5 separate regions of the Homo sapiens genome follow, and all the other regions are linked to region 3. Evidence: promoter capture Hi-C in 16 types of primary human blood cells and fetal thymus (Javierre and others, 2016). All regions are on one chromosome and are shown on one strand. Each heading gives the region's core, a stretch centred on a gene start or on the middle of the fragment in contact. The rest is flanking DNA. Distances are from core to core; before and after follow the strand shown. Region 1 overlaps COMMD2 (COMM domain containing 2). Region 2 overlaps ANKUB1 (ankyrin repeat and ubiquitin domain containing 1). Region 3 holds the start of HPS3 (HPS3 biogenesis of lysosomal organelles complex 2 subunit 1). Region 4 holds the start of RNF13 (ring finger protein 13). Region 5 overlaps ANKUB1 (ankyrin repeat and ubiquitin domain containing 1).

The links. Contacts are between HindIII fragments. The CHiCAGO score rates a contact against its expected background, and 5 or more counts as called.
Region 1: a fragment that was not itself captured here is called in contact with the fragment with the promoter of HPS3 in region 3 in 4 of 17 cell types (non-activated CD4 T cells, total CD4 T cells, total B cells and 1 more); the score reaches 6.3 in non-activated CD4 T cells.
Region 2: a fragment that was not itself captured here is called in contact with the fragment with the promoter of HPS3 in region 3 in 1 of 17 cell types (total CD4 T cells); the score reaches 5.7 in total CD4 T cells.
Region 4: a contact is called between the fragment with the promoter of RNF13 here and the fragment with the promoter of HPS3 in region 3, in 7 of 17 cell types (naive CD8 T cells, naive CD4 T cells, non-activated CD4 T cells and 4 more). The highest score is 14.0, in naive CD8 T cells.
Region 5: a fragment that was not itself captured here is called in contact with the fragment with the promoter of HPS3 in region 3 in 3 of 17 cell types (naive CD8 T cells, total B cells and total CD4 T cells); the score reaches 5.7 in naive CD8 T cells.

Annotation. Positions count from the first base shown.
Region 1 is chr3:149,741,121-149,743,820 of GRCh38, reverse strand. COMMD2 (COMM domain containing 2) reads left to right here. Exons shown (of 5, transcript NM_016094.4): 5 at 2,103-2,700. The coding sequence ends at 2,300. Among named protein-coding and RNA genes, the nearest start is that of COMMD2, 10 kb to the left of the region's middle. The HindIII fragment of the contact is 1,385 bases long and covers 720-2,104 here.
Region 2 is chr3:149,761,462-149,764,161 of GRCh38, reverse strand. ANKUB1 (ankyrin repeat and ubiquitin domain containing 1) reads left to right here. Exons shown (of 6, transcript NM_001144960.3): 6 at 2,549-2,700. The coding sequence ends at 2,678. Among named protein-coding and RNA genes, the nearest start is that of COMMD2, 10 kb to the right of the region's middle. The HindIII fragment of the contact is 8,772 bases long and covers 1-2,700 here.
Region 3 is chr3:149,128,382-149,131,081 of GRCh38, reverse strand. It overlaps HPS3 (HPS3 biogenesis of lysosomal organelles complex 2 subunit 1), which reads right to left and starts at 1,444. Exons shown (of 17, transcript NM_032383.5): 1 at 1,142-1,444. The coding sequence starts at 1,358. RefSeq lists enhancers at 903-1,402, 1,184-1,443. The HindIII fragment of the contact is 10,979 bases long and covers 1-2,700 here.
Region 4 is chr3:149,811,842-149,814,541 of GRCh38, reverse strand. It overlaps RNF13 (ring finger protein 13), which reads right to left and starts at 1,327. Exons shown (of 10, transcript NM_183381.3): 1 at 1,189-1,327. RefSeq lists enhancers at 1,484-1,593, 1,459-1,970 and a silencer at 1,804-1,953. The HindIII fragment of the contact is 6,716 bases long and covers 1-2,700 here.
Region 5 is chr3:149,781,767-149,784,466 of GRCh38, reverse strand. The region is part of intron 2 of ANKUB1 (ankyrin repeat and ubiquitin domain containing 1); the gene reads left to right. Among named protein-coding and RNA genes, the nearest start is that of ANKUB1, 9.4 kb to the left of the region's middle. The HindIII fragment of the contact is 1,254 bases long and covers 776-2,029 here.

The sequences.
Region 1 (2,700 bases), core at 163-2,662, 610 kb before region 3:
TGTCAGTGTAGAGGAAAAACAAATATAAACAGAGCATAATTGAATAAATAAGTACTGTTTTCAATTATCATATATATAATTTGCATATGTGTCATCTATAGTTATTTGTACTACAGAGATGATCTTAAACTGGTACTTTAGCCTGCAAGTACCTATTTTATGTTTGGGGACCAGCTCACCCAAAGGGATTGACTTATTGTTTGCAAATTAGTTGGGGACATTAAATTTCAGCCTTGGATCAGTATCTTGGGTTCTTTTGGAAGCCCAGGTTACCTATAATTATTTGGAAGAAGTTATTAGTCAGAATATTCTATTTTACAGAATTAAATTAATCCTGAAATCTCAGGTTTAGATTTGTTACTCACTTGAAAATCCCTTCAAGTTGGAATCTAGTCTTCTTGACATGACTCCACTATTTTTGATAACTTTTTTGCTTTCTCCTATAACAAGATGTTTCAGGCTCATCTTGTACAGTTTCTCTCCTAGACTTCAAGTCAGCTATTGCTTTGGATAGTCCTGGTTCCTTTTAATGGAGAATCTAAAGATTGAAAGGACCTTGAAGTTGGTCATTGTTTATAGTTTTGTGTTTTCTTCTTTTAAAAATATGTCAGTATTACTTATTTTTTAAATTTTGGAACATATTATACAAATGAAAGGTTATAGATACCCAGTTTAAAGAATAATGATAAAACAAATACCAGTACACCCACCACCAAGCTTAACAAATAAAACCAGTACTTTTGAAGAACCTGTACCCAATTGTAACCATCTCCCAGCCACCTGAAGGAAACCGTTATCCTGAATTTTCTGTGAATCTTTTCTTTTTCTTTTTCTTTTTCTTTTTTTTTTTTTTTTGAGATAGAGTCTCACTCTGTTGCCCAGGCTGGAGTGCAATGGCACGATCTTGGCTCACCACAACTTCTGCCTCCCAGGTTCAAGCAGTTTTCCTGCCTCAGCCTCCCAAGTAGCTGGGACTACAGGCGCGTGCCACCATGCCAGCTAATTTTTGTATTTTTAGTAGAGACAGGGTTTCACTATGTTGGCCGGGCTGGTCTCAAGCTCCTGACCTTGTGATCCACCCATCTCAGCCCCCAAAAGTGCTGAGATTACAGGCGTGAGCCACCGTGCCTAGCCCCTAATCTTTTCTTTATAGTTTTTTTAAACATAAATTTTGTCACCAAACTGTATATTTTTTAAACTTGAACATATTCTGTGACTTGCTTTTTTTCAACATTTTCATTTCTTCTATGATAACCCATGTTGCTGTAGTTCATTTCTTTTCTCTGCCATTTAGTAAGCAATTCATTGTGTGATTATTCTTGGTTTATCTATTCTGTTAATGAATATTTGATGTATTTCTAATTTTTGGTTCTTGGAAACATACTATCATGAATAAATGTATATAAGAGGTTAAGGTATATGCCTAGTGGTGGAGTTGCTGGTAATGCACATTGTTTTCCAAAGTGATTTTCTCATCGCTTACCAGGAGTGGGTGAGAGTTCCCATTACTGCCACTTGCAATGCTTGGTATGAACAGGTTTTTAATTTTTGCTAGTCTGATATTTGTAAAATGGTATTTCATGTAGTTTTACTGGCTATTATCCTGATGTTTAATAAAGTTGAACATATTTTTCTATATTCATTTGTCTTCTGTAAAATGCTTATTTAGACCTTCTGTATATTTTTATCTTGGGTTTTGAGGTTTTTTTCTTATTAAATCAGAGGAGTTCACACATTCTGGATACTAATCTTTTTTTGGTTATATGTCTGTTGCAAAATCCCTTCTCTCGGTTTATGACTTGTTTTTTCACCATCTTTAGGTATCCTTTGAAGAAAATTGAGTTTTAATGTAGTTAAATTTTACCAGTTTTGTCTTTATGGTTTGAGCCTTTTATATCATGTTTAAGAAATCTTCTATACCATAAAATTGGTATATATTCTCATTATTTTCTTTTCAAAGGTTTTAAAGTTTACTTTTCATTTTGAAGTCTGTAATTCATCTGAAACTTAATTTTTGTGTATGGTTTAAGATAATTATAAATATTATGTATTCAGCATGGTTATTAAATAGTTACTGTGCTCTTATTTCATTTAAAATCAAGCTTGCAAGTAGAAGTCTCAGGCAACAGATTAAACCAGCAGTGACTATAAAGCTACACCTTAATCAAAATGGAGATCACAACACCAAAGTTCTGCAGACAGACCCAGCCACCCTGCTCCATTTGGTTCAACAACTGGAACAAGCATTGGAAGAGATGAAGACAAATCACTGTAGGAGAGTTGTTCGCAACATCAAGTAGTACCAGTTTTAAGGTTTTAATTCATTTGAATCACTTATGAATTGATGATATACAGCAATTACTTTTCAAAATTAATTTTTTATTAATTCATGATGATAAATACATAGTATTCCTCAGTATCTATTCCAAGATACTGAGGTCATAATCAGAAGCTAAGCTGGGTGCAGTGGCTCATGCCAGTTATCCCAGCACTTTGGGAGGCCGAGGTGGGCAAATCATGAGGTCAGGAGATTGAGACCTTCCTGGCTAACATGGTGAAACCCCATCTCTACTAAAAATATAAAAAATTAGCCAGGTGTGGTGGCACGCATCTATCAGAGTCCCAGCTACTCAGGAGGCTGAGGCAGGAGAATCGCTTGAACCTGGGAGGTGGAGGTTGCAGTGAGCTGAGATTGTGCCA
Region 2 (2,700 bases), core at 179-2,678, 630 kb before region 3:
ACCACAAAGACACAAACATGAGGAATGGATGGACGCTATCTTGATGGCTACATGCACCATCACCAAGCTAGTGTCATAGCCAGGAAATGGGGAAGAACCTAATGTAATCCTTCATGATGCTGACCCAGGGATCAGGTGGGTAAAGTGACCATCAGATGTTCCTGTTTTACAGAAAGGGGAGTCTCCCAAAGCAGACAAGTCATCTGGCATCATGTGAAAGTACTTGTTGGACCACATGTCATTCAGGAACTCCTACCTTTAGATTCATAAAACTAAACCTCTCAGGGTTGACTCCAAGATGGCATTATGCAGTTAACACAGATCAAGCGCTAATGTGGGTTTGGGTTGGTGAGTAAATGTGGCTGGTGTAGACAGTCACTGAGGCCAGAAGGTCACATAGAGTCTCATTCCTCAGCCTAGACGTCAGTAGGCTTTACACAGGTCAAAGAATATCTGTAAGGTGTGTCTAGAAAATAGCTTTCCTTATTGCTCATTGTCCAATTCCAGAGAGGTTTATGTGACCTGGGAGTCCAGTTAAGTAAAGATTCAAATGTAAGGGATTGATCCAGAAGGCTGAGAGTTTGAGTGGACTGAGAATAGATGATAATCTCAAATGTTATGAGCTTTGCTGGGCTCTTGTACTCTGGATACAAGTACAGCTCTTTGTTTTTATTCTTTATTTAAAAAGGCATATCTTGTATGTTTTAATCACCTTTTGTATCTCCAGCACATAGAATAGTGCTTGCCATAGAGTAAGTGCTCAATACGCATCTTTTTCTTAAGGTAAACAGTTTTTGAATGAATGCAGAAAAGCCAGGTTTCAAATGCCAGGGAGAGAATCAGGATAGGCTCTGAGCCTAGGAAGAGCAAGGATATGCATCAGAACAGGAGAGGACTTCAAACTAAGTCTGGTGGGATACAGGGAAAGGCTGAAAGTGCCTGAATGATTTCTTTAAGACTTAACACCTAATTTTATGGGCTGCATGGATGGGTTAACTCAGTTTAGAGGGCACAGAAAGACACAGCCATTGAGGTAAAGCAAGAAGTTAATCTAGAACAAAGAAGTTGAATCAGGCAGACATAGACCTGGTTCAAATGTTGGAAACACTATGGTACTTTTATACAGGGTTACTCCTAATAGATTGAGTGAAAGCCTTTTAGAAATACCAGACTTTGCCAGACAACATGGGCAGAGGTGAGGTAAAGGATCCAGGCAGAGCTAGTAACATGGTCAAAGGCACTTTTGTGAAAGAGCAAGCAAGAAATTGAATTTTCAGGAAGGTACGTGGATTTGCAAAAGTCATCCTAGGCAATAAGGAAGAACTGGCTGGAGATAAGACTGGCAAAGTAGACTGCATCTACACTAAGAAGCATCTTGTGTGACCAAGTGAAGAGTTTGCTTCTTATTCCCCCTTCCATGGGGTAGGAGGTAGGTGGGAAGCTCATAGAAGTTCTTTTTCATGAAGTAAGTTCCATAATCAGTTTTTGTTTGTTTTTGAAGACAAATCTGATAGAGATGTATGGAAGACTCGTTGGAAAGATGTGGAAAGACTATAGTAAAGGTAGGAAGCTGCAAAAAGAGAAATAAGAGAAAATAAAGACCTGGACTAGAACAACAGTAGTTAGGGAAAAGAGAAAAGGCCAAATACAAGAGATATTTCTGGGGAATAATCCACAAAATTTGGTCACTGACTGGGTGTGGAAATAGAGAAAGAAGGAATTTAGTTTCGTTTCTAGCTTTGGAGATGGTGAGGATAGCAAAATCGAAGTGTTAGAACAAGGAAACAGAAGTGGGACAAGTTTAGGAAGAAGATAAAGATATGTTAAATTAGAAGTGTCTATGGGATGAATATTTTTATTTGTTAATTGGAGATATGCCACTTTTGAGAAAGGTCAAGGAGTCATGGATAAAAGAATTTAAACAGTGAGTAAATGAGGACTCCTAGGATGAGGGTGTAGAAAGAGAGGAGGACCAAAGATAGAATCTTGGAGGACCCCAACATTTAAGGTGATGTAAAACACCTCTGTATTAAATCACATTTGCATCCTACAAAGAGTAATCGTATTCAAATTTGCAAGTCTTTATTAGTATATAGCCAGAGAATAACTATCATAAAACATTAAGTTCCTTTGCATTTTAGTTAAAGACTATCAAAATACCTAATATCTTTTCAATTAAAAAATCCTCATGTGTGTTCGTAGGGGTAGAAAGTGGAGAAAAGAGGAGGCCAGGGAATATGTGATGTATAGGAATATCTAGAGAGGAGAGAGAAAAAGTTTCAACCCAGAGAATTCTACATGATATTGAGTGGCTTTCTGTTTCTAGTTGTGGATTCTAAGTTTTTAGTATTGCCTTGAGAAAATATCATTCCCACTGCATCACAGGGAACTTGTTTTAGAAAGATTACTGTTTCTATTTCACATCTACCTATGTGACAAGACAAACTAGCCCTAGCTACAAAATCAACCTGAAGATTTCCATCCTTTTTCAGCTATGTATGCAGACAAGATCAGACCTCCTTACAAATTATATCTTGTTTTCTTGCAGTGCCTTTAAAGAGAAACGATGGCTTCAGCAGTTAGAAATAGCAAGAGTCCTGGCCAAAAAGAGCATTTCTAACTTGACTACCCGAGGAGGTCTGACAGCGTGTGAAAACTCTCTAGAAACTGTGCTTTGAAAAGTCATGACAACTTCAGTTT
Region 3 (2,700 bases), core at 195-2,694:
AACCAGCTGCGGGGTAGGGATTAGAGAGAGATCTCCAATCTTCCAGGTTCAAGTTCTCCACTTCATTAATAGCATAGCCACCAGCTTTTGCAACGTAAATACTGAACTTTACACCCATCTTGTAAAGTATGAATCGAAGGTAAGTGTATTAAAGGAATTATATGGTAAATTCTTCTGTAATCTAAAAGGGATCTAGTTTTAAATGTTGGATTTTTCTAAAATAGGATTCACCCACACAGTATTTCCTTGGTATTGCTTCACATTTCTGGTGTGAAAGAGTAACGGCTGCTCTTACAACTGTTTGTTTTTGTTTGTTTTGGGACGGAGTCTCACTCTGTCGCCTAAACTGGAGTGCAATGGGGCAATCTCCGCCTCCCCGGTTCAAGCGATTCTCCTGCCTCAGCCTCCCAAGTAGCTGAGACTACAGGCGCCCACCACCACGTCCGGCTAATTTTTGTATTTTTAGTACAGACGGGGTTTCAATAAATTGACCAGGCTGGTCTCGAACTCCTAACATCGTGATCCGCCTGCCTCAGCCTCCCAAAGTGTTGGGATTACAGGCGTGAGCCACTGCGCCCGGCCACAGATGTTTAAGAGAAGAGAGGGGGGCAGTCTGAGTTCTACTTACACACATTTAAAAATCAACACATAATGTGAGCTTTCAAAAACCGACCGGAAGTAGATGGAGGTACAGATGTGAAAGAACTGCCAAGAGTTGGAATAATTGTTAAAGCTGGGAGTACTTGGAGGTTCCGGGATACAGTACTAGTCTCCTTATTCCTACTTGTTTTTTTGGTAAGTCTTTGAAATCTGATGCACTAAAGAGTTTTTTGTTGTTGTTTGCTTAAGTATCCGAGATGAGTGGAATCCAGCCAGAGGCCTTTCTGCAGAAAACCAAGACGAAGAGATGTCAGCGTCTCCGCCCCGACAGAAGCAAGCTCATACCTATGCTTGCCGCGACAACCGCATAGCTCAATGCGACTTCAAGCAATCAGCGGCCAGACCCAGGGAGACCATCCGGCAAATTCCGGGAAGCAAGAAGTCCCATCCCTAGCTAGAGCTACAGCCCAGACGTTCGGTCCGCTAGCTAGGAGGCCTCAAGCTGGACCCCAGGCGGCCCCTGGCTCTCTAGATTACTCACCAGCCTCGCTGTAGGCCAGGCGCAACACCCGGCCCAGCGTGGAGAAGGCGCACCGCGGCTGGCACAGCTCCTGGCCGGCCACCGCGAACGCCTCCACCTTGCAGCCCGCCGCCACGAAAAGCGCGTCACGCCCCCCGCCACAGAACCGGTCCGGCTCCAGCTTGCAGGGCACCACCTGCTGCGACCCGAACGGGTGCAGGTTGTACAGCTGCACCATCCCGACGTCCGGCGGGATGGCACAGCCTGCCCGCCCTGCAGGGCGCCCGGAGACCCCGCGCTGACCGCGAATGTAGGACTACTTCCGCGAGCGAGCCAATGACGCCGGGTCACGTGAACGCCAGCCGGCCCCGCCCGCGGCTCCGCTACTTAAAGAGGCCGCCGCGGGGCGTGGCAGGCGTCGGGAAAGCGGTCACGCCAGCCTGGTCAGCCCGCGCTCTGGCGCTGCAGTGCTTTCGGTCTCTGCGCCTCCCACTCCGCCGCGCGAGCTTGCCACTGCTCTATGCTCAGTGGCCGGTGGGTGCGGGGACCGCTGGGTCCCTGCCTTTCGTCTTTTACTGCTTTGGGCCAGGCGGTATGTTTTGGCTTTTGAGTACGTTCTGACAATTCATCATCTATCTTGTAACATTTTGTACTTACTTTGAGGAGCGTTATTCATGTCTCTTCAGTAGTCCCTGAGCTTCTGGAGGATGGGGTTGCAAAAACTGAAATGGGGTGCAACTCGGGGCTAAACACTCTGAAGAGTTGCTTTAAAATAATGGAAATTCTAGAATAGTTCAGCTGGAAAGAGCAAAGCCTTGAACGTGCTTGGCAAAAAGATATTTGTTGAAAGAAAGAATCCATGGACTTCATCTTGTAGGCATTTGACAAAAGACTAGTTTGAGCCCCAGAGGATAGAAGAACTAGGAGGGAAATCCCCTGGCTTTCAGTCCAGTGCTCCTAAAACTATGCAGTAAATTATCTATTCCTGACATCTCAACGTGGAGTTCACGATCGCAACACTTTCCCTTTTCTAAAAAAATCAGATTTAGATAAAACAAGTAGTATAACTTTGTCCAGTTCACCTAGAAAATATATGTGTTAGCATGGATTGAGGGATGCTGTTTTATTTAGGCACACAGGGACATAAATGAAAGTGCAACATTTTCTTCAGTCAGTTTCCAGTTCAGAATTTGTAAATTAGATGCAATTGGATTGAAGTTAAACTTGCCTCCCTTTCCTAGGCCCTTCAGATGAATAAAGTACCTCTAAGTAATGGGAAACAACAGGTTCGTCAAACTCAGTGAGTTAGAGAAGTAAACATGGAGGTAGCTCAGGTCAGGAACTAGGGCTGCAAAAAATCACAGAAGGCTCCTATGGAAAACAACCAGACTAATAGTCCACAAGTTATTTGTTCTAGATACAAAACTTAAGAGCAAATATCAAAATCAATAGTAAAAAAGATTCCTTTCCACAAGTATCTGCCATATTATTCTTTTTGGCTTAATTTTCTTCTTCAAGACTTAATTATCCTAATTCAATTTTCTCCTAATGAAGACTGATATTAACTTTAGTGTAATTTC
Region 4 (2,700 bases), core at 78-2,577, 680 kb before region 3:
ATTCTAAAATCTATTAATGAATCCTTATGGGCCCTGCACTACAGCACTGCACTACACTTCCTGCACTACAGCACTGCACTACACTTCTTACCTCCTGTTTAAAGTTCTTTTTAATTGCTATCACTGTCCAGTTTTGTTACTTCGAGATGGAGCTAATGTCCACCCATTAAAAAACTGTGCTTAAATAGCATAAACTCTTGAAAGCCCTACCTTAAATCTTGAATTGATCTGTTTCTCCAGAAGAACTCTTTGGAGGCACAGCCACCTTACTTATTTATATTGTATCAAAAACTGCAGATGTTCTCCTTGGAGAACAAACACATCATTGTTGAAAGGAATGCATCAGTTTTCACTGTTTCTGCTGCATCACTGACGAACAGTAATAGCCGGGCAGGTTTGGGGCAACAAGAGAGGACCCGAGCAGCTGCCCACGGTGCTGAAACTGATGATGAAACGACAGTTTTGGAAATTTACTATTTACTATTGTCAGATTAGGACAAAATAGAGGAATTTACCAGACACTGGCAGAGAAAACTGAGTGGCCGCCACCAAAGTTGCATGAGTGCTTCCGGGATACTGCTGTTTGGCTTCGATGTCTGCCCACTCTCTCTTTCTCTCTGGGACAAAGTTATTTAATAAGTGCAAGTCAAGTCAAGTCAAGCATACAGGCAGAGCTGCTGACTGACCGTAGTATCTGGCCCTAGCAGGGGTTAAGTCCCAAACCTGCAATCTGAGCTTCCAGGGAAAGAAAAAGGGGGTGGGGGTAAAAGAGAGGAAGTGACTGCCCTCCTTCTATTCAGAGACAAAACAGCCCCCTCAACTAAAGTCAAGCGATGTGCCCGAGGACGTTGCGGCAGGTACTTGACCAAGAAAAGCCTTCCAAACATGTTTTCCAGGCAGGCTCTTGCAGCCTCAAGAAGGGAATGAGAGAAGCAAAACCGGTAACTCAACTTTGGACACACACAAACTCGCGGAATGAGAGTGCAGGGGAGACTCGGTCCCCCGAGGGCAAGGCTATTTTATTCCTTTTGCAAAAAGCCTAATTGACTTCTCACCCAGCTCTAGAGGAGCAGCAAAGACCTCAGCAGCAGGGCCGACTCCGAGCTCGAGGGCCAACAAGCGGGGTATGTTCTCTGGGCCGCTCGATAACGAGCTGCCCGGCTGCCGCGAAGCCGGACAGGGTCTTACCTTGAAGTCCGGCCCCCGCAACACAAACAGTCTTGCCAGCCGCGTCGCTGCGGGAGAAGTCCCTACCCTGATTTCATGACTGAATATCCGCACCGACCCCCACAGCCCGGAGTACTAGCAGGGACGACAACACCTAGGCGAAGCGGAAGTCCCGCCCCACGCGCCTCATTGGTCCGCACCCAAAGGCACAGAAAACCCACTGGGCAACATGGTTGCCTGTTAAGGCTCTTTCCCACTCTCACGCGGAGTCTCGCTACTTGCTCTAGCCCGGCTCGGAGAAATGCCCAGTTTGCGAGTCTCGTTCTTGGCCGCGTGATCCGTCTTCCCTGGAAGGGAAGAGCAGGGTGGGGCAGGCGTCTGCGGAACTGGAGCGCGGCTGAAGAAGCTGCTCTTGGCAGAGGAAGGGGCAGGCTGGCAAAGTGGATTGGCTGTGGGCGCCTGCCGCTAACCATGTGCCCCTAGAAACGGAGACCGTAGGGTCTGGAGGGCGCGGGACCGAGCGGGCAGGGCCGGTCGGTCTGATCTGCTCCGGCTGTTGGGACAGAGTAGCCCAAGATTCGGCTGCCGGGCTGCCCCCGGGCGGGCCTGGCCCTGGCGCTGACGCGTCTCTTCCCTGCACACTACACTCACCCGACCTACTAAAGAGGCGAGGGCGAGGCCTCATCCGCCCGCCTTCCGTACCGTGCCCAGTCTGAGATCAGAGTGGGTGGGGACCGTGGCCACACCTTAAAGTAGGGCTCAAATTGTTAGAGATGCGAGCGGCCCGAGGTCTGAACGCCAGTCCCCTGAGGCCTGGCTCGGATCCACGCTGGCATCAGCACTCTGGGCCTGACACGCGCCATCCCCGGGGCTTAGCAAAAGTCAAACCATGTGATTCAGGCCCTAGGTCAGCCTTTTAAAACCCTTGCCTCCTTTTGATGAACCAAAAATCTCCTCCCCTGCCGCCCTTCTGATAAGCCTTCCTTTCTGGTTGTCTCAATCTTAAACCAGTCGAAACTTAAATTACCGGATTGTACCATCCACATTGATTAATCATTGCCAACTCGCCACCTTACAAAAGCAGTGTGACTTAGGCAAATATTACAGAGTCCTGAAAGAAATGTCAGGAGACATAGAATCAGGCACTACTTCTGCTTCAAATAATAAGGCACCCTTAATAAGGCCTTTACAGGCTTCAACTCCTTCAACATCATCTTTTAAAAATGGTGGCGAGGAGGCTATCACACAGAGTATTAGTAGAATACCATTGGATGTAACTTGTCACTTTGATTGCTTGGAGAGCCCTGAGTAGGTGGGACACAGCAATGGGGAAAAGACTCTTTCCTTATTGTGTATCCTTTTGTGCCTTTTGAATTTTGAACCTTGCAAATATTACCTACTCAAATAAAATTCAAATACAAGAAATTTAAGATCAAATTTTAAAAAATTAAATAAAAGCTATCAAAGGTACTTTCCTCTTCTGTGTATCCTATGAGTATTCTATGTAGTCTTAACTTTTCATTGGTTGCAAAG
Region 5 (2,700 bases), core at 153-2,652, 650 kb before region 3:
AAATGCCATTGCCTAGAGACTTTCCTGTGTCTGTTGCTTCTCTGCCTTATTGGCTCGTAATTCAAAGTTGGGGTGGATAGGTAGGTCTGATTGGGAGCACCCTGTCACATGTCCATGCTCTACTGCAAAGGGGGCAACTATCCAGCAGGTTGTGCTTTTCAGAGCGTGAAATGGGCTCAGCCTCCCTAGGACTCCTTCTGGTTTCCCTGCCTCCTTCTATAACCAGACTTGTACCAACCAAGTGCTGGGGTCAAAACATAGTTAATCCCTCCTGACATCCCTGGAATGTTGTGAAAAGTTGTTTTATGCTGAGAGATTGAGTTAACTGTAGTACCATTGAGTAGATGTTTATCAGATAAGTTAGAGAAGTTTGTACTATCTTGACAAGTCTAAATTTGATTCAAAATGATAAACATTTTAGCTTTCGAGAGGTACTGTTAATGTATAAACACCAAAATCCAATATATGTGGTTTTACATTTATGCATTTTTATACACAAAAACATGTATAAACATGTTTCTTTAAAATTTACACATGAAAGCATGTTTCTTAAAAATGGCCCTCTTTTCTAAGATGAGTCATAACAAAAGGTATGAAAAGAATCTGGTGAAGAAAGGTGTTCCAATTCAGTGTCCAAGACTCCATGGATAATCTCTCCAGAATGACTACCACACAAGAGGAGAAGTTTATGGAGACATCTCACTGGAATTCATTTGGTTCAACAAAAACAAATATTACTTCCCCTTTTGTTCACTCTGGAATAGTTCAGCAAGCTTCTGCTTACTTAGTGCTGTAACTCCAAAACAGCAAAATATAAAAAAGCAGAACTTGAGAAAAAATACAGCAGTACATTCAAAACTTTCATTAACTTGTTTTCTTTCAGTCAGTTCTGTTTAGCTTTTCCTTTCTTATTGTTAAAGTACATGTATGAATTTACAGTAAGTTTGCATTTGTTTTTTGAAGGTAAGCATGGAATTATTCTCATGAGATAGAACGTATTTGTTTTTATTGAAAAGTAAGATACTTTGTGTATATCTCTTGGGTTGGTTTGTTTGCATCTCAGTTTGTTTATAAAGGAAAAAGTCTAATTTTGTACATGTCCAACAATGATTTGTGTGTGGTATTATTATTTAATAGCGTCTGACTTCGTTGGTTGTGACTGACCAGCCTTCTGTGATTCAGAATACTTGGGGAGGAGTATCATATAGACAGAGAGGTAGAGATGCCTTCTCTTATGTGGATAAGGTGGATTAGCAAGTTGCTATTAATTGGCATCTACCTACTCCCTCGTCATACAACCAAATTAGAAAATATCGACAACTAATGTGCCTCACTAGAACTCAAAATGGGTTTTCCCATAAAAACAAGGTTTATACAAAGGTGAGTATGTAGAGTTAAAAAGTGCAATGAGAACTATTATCCAGATACATTATTGATTAAAAAGGCCTGGGATGTCATTCAACATTTATTATTTATTTATGTGATAAAAAGTTCCTGAGCGCTTAAAAAAAAAATGAACAGACTCAGTAGGTGTTAATTTTCTTGAGACTTAAGAACCTGGCTTCATTAATAATTAGTAATATTTTCTTCCTTGCACTTTTTATTTTCATCTAAAGATTGTCAGATCAGCTGGGCACAGAAGCTCACTCCTGTAATCCCAATACTTTGGGAGGCTGAGGTGGATGGATTGCTTGAGGCCAGGGGGTCCAGACCAGCCTGGACAACATAGCTAGGCCCTGTCTCTACAAATAAGAATTTAAAATGTAGCTGGGTTTGGTGGTGAGTGCCTGTACTTGGGAGGCTGAGGTGGGAGGATTGCTTGAGTCTAGGAGTTTGAGGTTACTGTGAGCTCTGATAGTGCCACTGTACTTCAGCCTGGGCAACAGAGTGAGACCCTATCTCAAAAAAATTGCCAGATATTTTGCAGTTCTCCCTTATTACTTGTTCCAGAGTCAGTTATATGTATACTAAGTTATACATGCTTATCTTTATAGATATAAGTATACGATTATTCATATTCTGAGAAGCTTCTTTTTAACTTATCTAACCTCACACACCTAGTTAACTTAAGAGTGACTTGAGAGCTGGGAATGGAGGAGAATTCTTTCCCCAGCTACTCAGGAGGTGGGAGACTGCTTGAGCCCAGAAGTTCAAGACCAGCCTGGGCAACATAGTGAGCCCTAGACTCTAAAAAAAAATTTTTTTTTTAAAGAGTGACTTGGGACTCTGTTATTTTGTTTGCATGTTATTCTATTTGGATTTATTTTGTCATTTGTTTGCATTTAATTTGTTATTTGCATTTAATTCTAAATATAAATTAGGAATTTTTAAAGAAATAAAAAAGAGCTATTACATAAAATATAATTTTTCTCTCTTTCCCACTATCTTTTTATTCAGTTTTCATAGGAATTTCTGCCTGCCCGTAAATATTATCTACATTAGCTTGAACAGATACTTCCCTTATGGAACCATAGGAAAGCACGGCGTGGCAAAAGTGAAAGAGTCAATCCTATGTCCTTTAAATTTGTATTGCATGTGTTTATGAGAAACTATCATGAAAAATTGTTCTAAGCACTTTAGGCTCAGTGGGCAGCTCAGCTTGCTGATCTGGCTTCATGCACAGCCACAGAGGGACTGAAACTGTTCCTAATCACTTCAGTCACTGAAATGGGCCCTAGATCAAAGTACTGCAGCCTTAAA